Linked DNA regions of Homo sapiens: region 1 is linked to region 2. The links are contacts of gene promoters, found by promoter capture Hi-C in human tissues and cell types (Jung and others, 2019). All regions are on one chromosome and are shown on one strand. The core of a region is centred on a gene start or on the middle of the fragment in contact, and the rest is flanking DNA. Distances in the headings are between cores, read along the strand shown.

What was found. Contacts are between HindIII fragments. The study calls those that stand out against the background at their distance.
Region 1: a contact is called between a fragment that was not itself captured here and the fragment with the promoter of HUS1B in region 2, in 1 of the 25 tissues and cell types used here (lymphoblastoid cells).

Annotation. Positions count from the first base shown.
Region 1 is chr6:238,815-241,887 of GRCh38, forward strand. No RefSeq gene overlaps it. Among named protein-coding and RNA genes, the nearest start is that of LINC03066, 35 kb to the left of the region's middle. The HindIII fragment of the contact is 4,073 bases long and covers 1-3,073 here.
Region 2 is chr6:655,396-658,359 of GRCh38, forward strand. HUS1B (HUS1 checkpoint clamp component B) reads right to left here and starts at 1,705. Exons shown (of 1, transcript NM_148959.4): 1 at 544-1,705. The coding sequence starts at 1,549. The coding sequence ends at 713. The region is part of intron 1 of EXOC2 (exocyst complex component 2); the gene reads right to left. The HindIII fragment of the contact is 15,216 bases long and covers 1-2,964 here.

The sequences.
Region 1 (3,073 bases), core at 351-2,850, 420 kb before region 2:
AGCACTTGGGGAAGCCGAGGCAGGCGGATCATTTGAGATTGGGAGTTCAAGACCAGCCTGGCCAACATGGTGAAACCCCATCTCTACTAAAAATACAAAAAAATTAGCCTGGCGTAGTGGTGTGCACCTATAGTCCCGGCTACTTGGGAGGCTGAGGCAGGAGAATTGCTTGAACCCAGGAGGCGGAGGTTGCAGTGAGCTGAGATCGTGTCACTGGGAGACAGAGTTAGACTCTGTCTCAAAAAAAAAGAAAAGAAAAGACACAAAGGCACACTCTTATTTTATGAATAAATGTCTCCTCAGTCAGAGGCAGATGCTTGTCCATACGCTGCAGTTACCACTGTGAGTGGCAGTGAAGACGCACCAGAGGCACAGCCCTGTTAGTCATTCTAGGGCTGGTTTTTGTCCATCCCTAAGACTGCAGTTCATTAGATGAAGTTGAAATAGCTCCTTACTGTGGAACTACGAAGAGAAGTAACCGCCTCACTCGGCTTGCTGGTCTAGTGCTGGAGAACGAGGTTATAGGTGTATCTTTGACCACTGTGGGACGTGGGCCCTCATCTTCCAGAGGGACAAAAATTACAAGATCTCAGAGTTGCCTCGGGATTGTTGAAAGATCAAAATCAGACAATGGGCCAGTGCAGGGTATTGTTATCACTGGGTGTCAGGAGCTGATGGCTACCAGAATTTAAATGAAGGGCCTTCAGAATGAACGCTGTTGACAATGCCATCGATCGTTTCCCTCCTTCTGAGTCCACCCTTGACGAGGGCCACAGCCTGGCTTCTGTCATAGAACTCCCATGGTACTTTCCATGAAGTTAAGAAAGTCATTGTACACCTCCCAGCACTTTTATTTCTGCTGAATAAAATCTCCCTCTCCTGGCCTTGGAAACTGCTACAGCTCACTAACCCTCTATCCTCAGAAACAGCCCTTCCAGCAACGCTGGCGGGCACCTGCCCATATCCTCAGGGAATTCCACTGGACTTTCCCAGTTCCTCCCTGGCCTCACGCCATTTTCACTGCATTCGTGTTTAGCACGTGCTTTATTCTCTCCCAGTTACACAGAGTTTCATGGAAAATCTCATGACAGTTTTTGGAATTGGGTTGATTGATAGGGCCATCCTTGGGAGAAGACGTGGTTGGCAATTGGTAAATTGGGGCAAACGTCGAACTCATTTAAATATTTTTTAACCTGTTGCTGTCTTTCACATTTTTCTCCTGAGAATCATATAACCTTAGAGCTGGAATGATCCACTCTCTCATTTTATGATGAGAAAACGGAAGCTTAGAGAAATGAATTGGCCTGGACTGAAGGATTAAACAACTAGTTAGTGTGGGAGCCAAGGCAGGAATCTAAGTCTCCTCCTCTCCAGTCAAGAACTTCTGGCCTCCAACATCCTCTTGAGCTCACATCTCAGAAGAGTGACATAATGTCCTCTCCCTGGGACCTCTATGTAGCCTCCACGTGGTCTAGGCTCTTGAGGTGCTCGGCTGGTACCCTTGCCCAGAGCAGAGAGTGAGGCAGACTGAGCCAGGGAGCAGGCAGGTGCTGGGGAGCCAAGGAGCCTCAGCGGGATGCCTTCCCAACTTACCACTGTTGTCATTCCAGAGCCCAGCTCACTTTGTCATTTTAAAGGCCATTTGTTAAACTCCCTTAGTCAATCCCATAGCCCCATTTTTCTTGTTTCCCTGTGGCACTTGACTAGGAGTTAAAAAATAGTAACATTAAAGACAGACCAACTATTCCTATTCTTGGACCAAGTTCCAGGAGCTGTGTTTTCCAGAGCAGGGAATCAAGGAAAATCAATATGACCTGAGTAGAGTAGACGAGCAGTTTCCCACTCCTGGAAACCTGGGGCTGGTACCAGGTCCAGGGCATGCGCTCCAGAATAGGCAGGCGGAACCTCTGAGATGCAGCCGAGGTACCATCGCTCCTGTGGGCAACTTCCTCTATAAAAAATATTTAAAAGTATTTTACTGCTGCGCTGATAAAATGACAGATGTAATTGAGATGGGATTCATTATTATATATTCATGATTATTATGTATATTTTTCTTCTGATTTTAAAAGGAATAAAGATTAAGCTTTTTTTTTTTTTTTTCTTTTTTGGGACGGAGTTTCGCTCTTGTTGCCCAGGCTGGAGTGCAGTGGTGCGATCTCAGCTCACTGCAACCTCTGCCTCCCAGGTTCAAGCGATTCTCCTGCCTCAGCCTCCTGAGTAGCTGGGATTACAAGCGTGTACCACCGCGCCCGGCTAATTTTGTATTTTTAATAGAGTCGGGGTTTCTCCATGTTGGTCAGGCTGGTCTCTAACTCCCGACCTCAGGTGATCCGCCCGCCTTGGCCTCTCAAAGTGCTGAGATTTACAGGCTTGAGCCACTGCACCCGGCCAAGATTAAGCATTTCTGAGGCTTCCGAATGCAGCCTGGGTCCCAGGCACCCTGTGCTTCCTGTGCCAGAGGGCAAAGTCGGCTTGCATCAGAACCAGATGAGCTGCGGGCACATCCTGCCTCTTCGTGGCATCCTGAGTTCCCAGAACCTCTGTTTCCTTCTCTCTAGAATAAGGATTGCCCAGGGCTACTGTGAGGATGGGCAGAGATCACATATATAAAAGAGAGCATCCTCTCATCCCTCCCTCACCTCCCACCTTTTCATGGGAGACTAGTCTGCAGCATTTCTTGTCTGCACAAACTCTTGGATTTGTTGCTTCTGAAATTGGAGACAAGCCACGGGTTAAGGGCACAGTCATTAGCAAGATCAGTTTTCCTCCTTCTCAGCTAACTTTTCTCTCTCTGCACAGCACTCCCTCTGCTCTGGTCGACATGTGCACAGCTGCACTGAAACTTCTCTCTGGTGACCGCCACTCCCTCCAAATAGCCTCACAGTGCCCCCACTGTTGCACACACTCAAGCTACCGCCCAGCTAGAATAATCCACCTTGGGCATCTTTTAAAAAATGCTCTAAAGGAAAGTGCTATCTCATCCCTGAGCAATGGAGGAGGAATATATGTTTCAATTAATAGTAAAACGACCAAGACTGATGCATCCTATAGTATCTGGGACCTGCTTTAC
Region 2 (2,964 bases), core at 455-2,954:
TTATATGTACTGAAAATCCAAAAAACTCATCTGTCTTTATTGCAATATTTGCTTTTTGCAGTGGTCTGGAACCAAACTTGGAGTATCTCTGAGACATGCCTATATTTCCTTGATTTCTAATGTGAATATGATACATGTGAAAAATGAACCTAATAAGCAATTCAAACTATGTAGATAATAAATCTAAAAACCATGTACACTGATATATTCTTTGACATATCCTATACAGAACACGGCTTAACAAAGAATATGTAATGCACACACATGCTAAATACCTTTTATCTTGCAGATATATTTAGCTCTCTACATAAGAAATGCCCTCGGAAAACATTCATACATATTTTAAAAGGAGAACTTTCCCGCTTTACACAGCAGCATTTTATAATAAAATACTGATGCAATTGTTTCAGGATTCAAAAATACTTATTTCATTACAACCCTGTTTTTCCCCCCCGAAAAAAAGAGTTGAAGAATAACTTTGATAGAATCTTAAGCAGGAAAAAAACCTGACAAACCCAATAAACAAAACATGAACTACCCAACTGTTTTACCAATGCTTTAATATAAATTTTGCAAAGGAGGAAGGGCTCAACAAAATATACGCCCTGCATAAGTCAGTGAAGGTCCAAATTTTCAACCCAATTAACTCAGGGTCTGTTTTAGTTTTGAAAAGATCAAAACCTTAAAAAAAAAATCTAAGCTGGCTGAATTTTTACAAGGCAGGAATGAAATACTGAAGAGAGACATCTTCTTGAACCAAAACAAGCTGAAGAAGAGTATTGTCCCAAATATTGCACAGGGCCGTCGTAGGATGTATTTGCTGTCCCTCCAAAAACTGCAGAAGCTTCCGATTGTCCACCCGCACTTGCACCATGCTCTCCAGGTCTCTGTTTTCAGGCACACCCACAGCCGACTGGGGAGGGTTTCCAAGATTTTTAAAATAACTTTGAATGGACACCACCTCCGTCTCTATACTCAGGGTCATCCTGCCACTGAGGTTTGCTTCCACCAGCACGTGACTGCCCACGTTCGCCATCCTCTCCACGATGCTCCTCAGCGTCCTCCAGCGCGGCAGGCGGATGCTCGCGTCGGAGGCGCGCAGGCTGGGCGGCAGGCAGTCCCGCCACACTCTCCTGGGAAGCACCCGCACGGGCAGATCGTGCACCACGCTGCGAGCGCGGCCCAGGGACGAGACCAGCTCCACCGCCACCGTGAGGGAGGGGCGGCGCTTGTGGGTCAGCTGCAGCTTCAGGGAGGACGCGCCCGCTGCGCTTCTCGCCGCCCGGGACAGGTGCTCCGCCGTCAGCTCCAGGTGGATCTCATCGAGATCTTCCGAGACACCTTCCATGCGAAACTGCTGGAAGGCCCCCTGCCGCACCTCGCACCACAGCCTGGCCTCGTGGAGGCCGCCGGAACCCGCGGGGCCGAAGCACAGGCTGTCAGGGCGCACGCGGAGCACGCAGACCTTCGCTAGCCTCGCGACGGTGCCGCTGACGTGAATGAACAGCTCTAGACAGCCTTTGCCGGTGATCTTGGCGCGAAACTTCATGATGCCACAGGGAAGGCAGCTGGGGGCCTCTGAGGGGGATTCCGCGTGCCACAAGCCCTTCCGGTCCGCTGGGGTCCGTGGCGCTGCCCTCCCCGCCCTCCCTCCGGCCCCCCAGCTAGGCAGGCACTCGGGTTCCCGGTTGCGGTTGCGGGTTCTGTTGTGGGTTCCGCAGCCCTAGGCCTGGAGCCACGGAAGGGCCTCCCAACGCCCGTTCTCACCTTCCCTCCAGCCCTCTCACAAAATGCTTCCGTTTCCACTCCGGTTATAAGAAGAGTAGGCATTCCACTGCTGAAACTTCTTAGTATTCTAAACACAATGAAGACAAAATCATCACTCAGATAAAGAACCACTTTTAATCTCTTTGGTATATACACTGATTCCATCTTCATCAATCGGCATATAAGAAGATATAGTTCCACGTGTCTTATGAAATCATAGCATACCAGGCATACATTTTACAACCTCATCTTCACACTTAAATATGTAACAGGCACCTTTCCATGCTGGTGAAACAAATCTACACCATCTTCATGGCTGCTCACTTTTCCAGTGTATGGAGTTATAACACAAATGACATTTGGATGATTTCCAATTTTTTGCTATTATGAACACAATGAATATTTTTGTACAAAATAGTTTTGCCCATTTACCCAACTATTTCCTTGCATTAAATTCAGAAGTGAAGTGCTGGTCAATGAATGCACTTTTAAAATCCTAATAAATATTCTCAGACTGGCCTGCAGAAAGCTACATGAACACTCTAGCCCACCAGCAACACTGGGTAGTAGCAATCTGTTTTACCTGTAGCACTCTGGCAGGCAAAAAAAAAAAAAAAAAATTCAACTTGCACTGTGTGTGAATTCCATCTTATGCCCTTTGCATCTTTTTACTGAGTTTATTTTTCTTGATTTTAAGATATCTAGCAAGAACATTAACCCTCTGTCCATTACATGTACTGTAAATATCTTCCCCAGTTTATCATGTGACTTTTCACACTGTTTTTGGTATTCTTTGCCCTTGGGAAATACTGAGTATTTTCATGTCAAACCTATTGACCTTTTCTCTACTACTTCTAGGGTCATGCTTTCAAAGTCCTGTTTCTGGTACTTTAATGTTATCTGTTTTTATGACTTAGTTGTTTGACTCAGTTGAAATCTTTTTTGGAGTACCGAATGCCTAGCTGATACACATAATTCACTAAACAATCCACTTCTCCACTAACCTGAAATGTCAATTTTGTTTTAGACAAAAATTCTCATTTTTGCTTGAATGTTTCCTGGCCCTCTCTATATTTTCTCCCACTGCCCTATCTTGAACCTGTACCAGTGATTTAATTTCTGTATTATATTTCAATATCGAATAGGACAATCTTTCAGAACTTCTCTCATTCTCTCACAGATACTGCTCCAGATGAA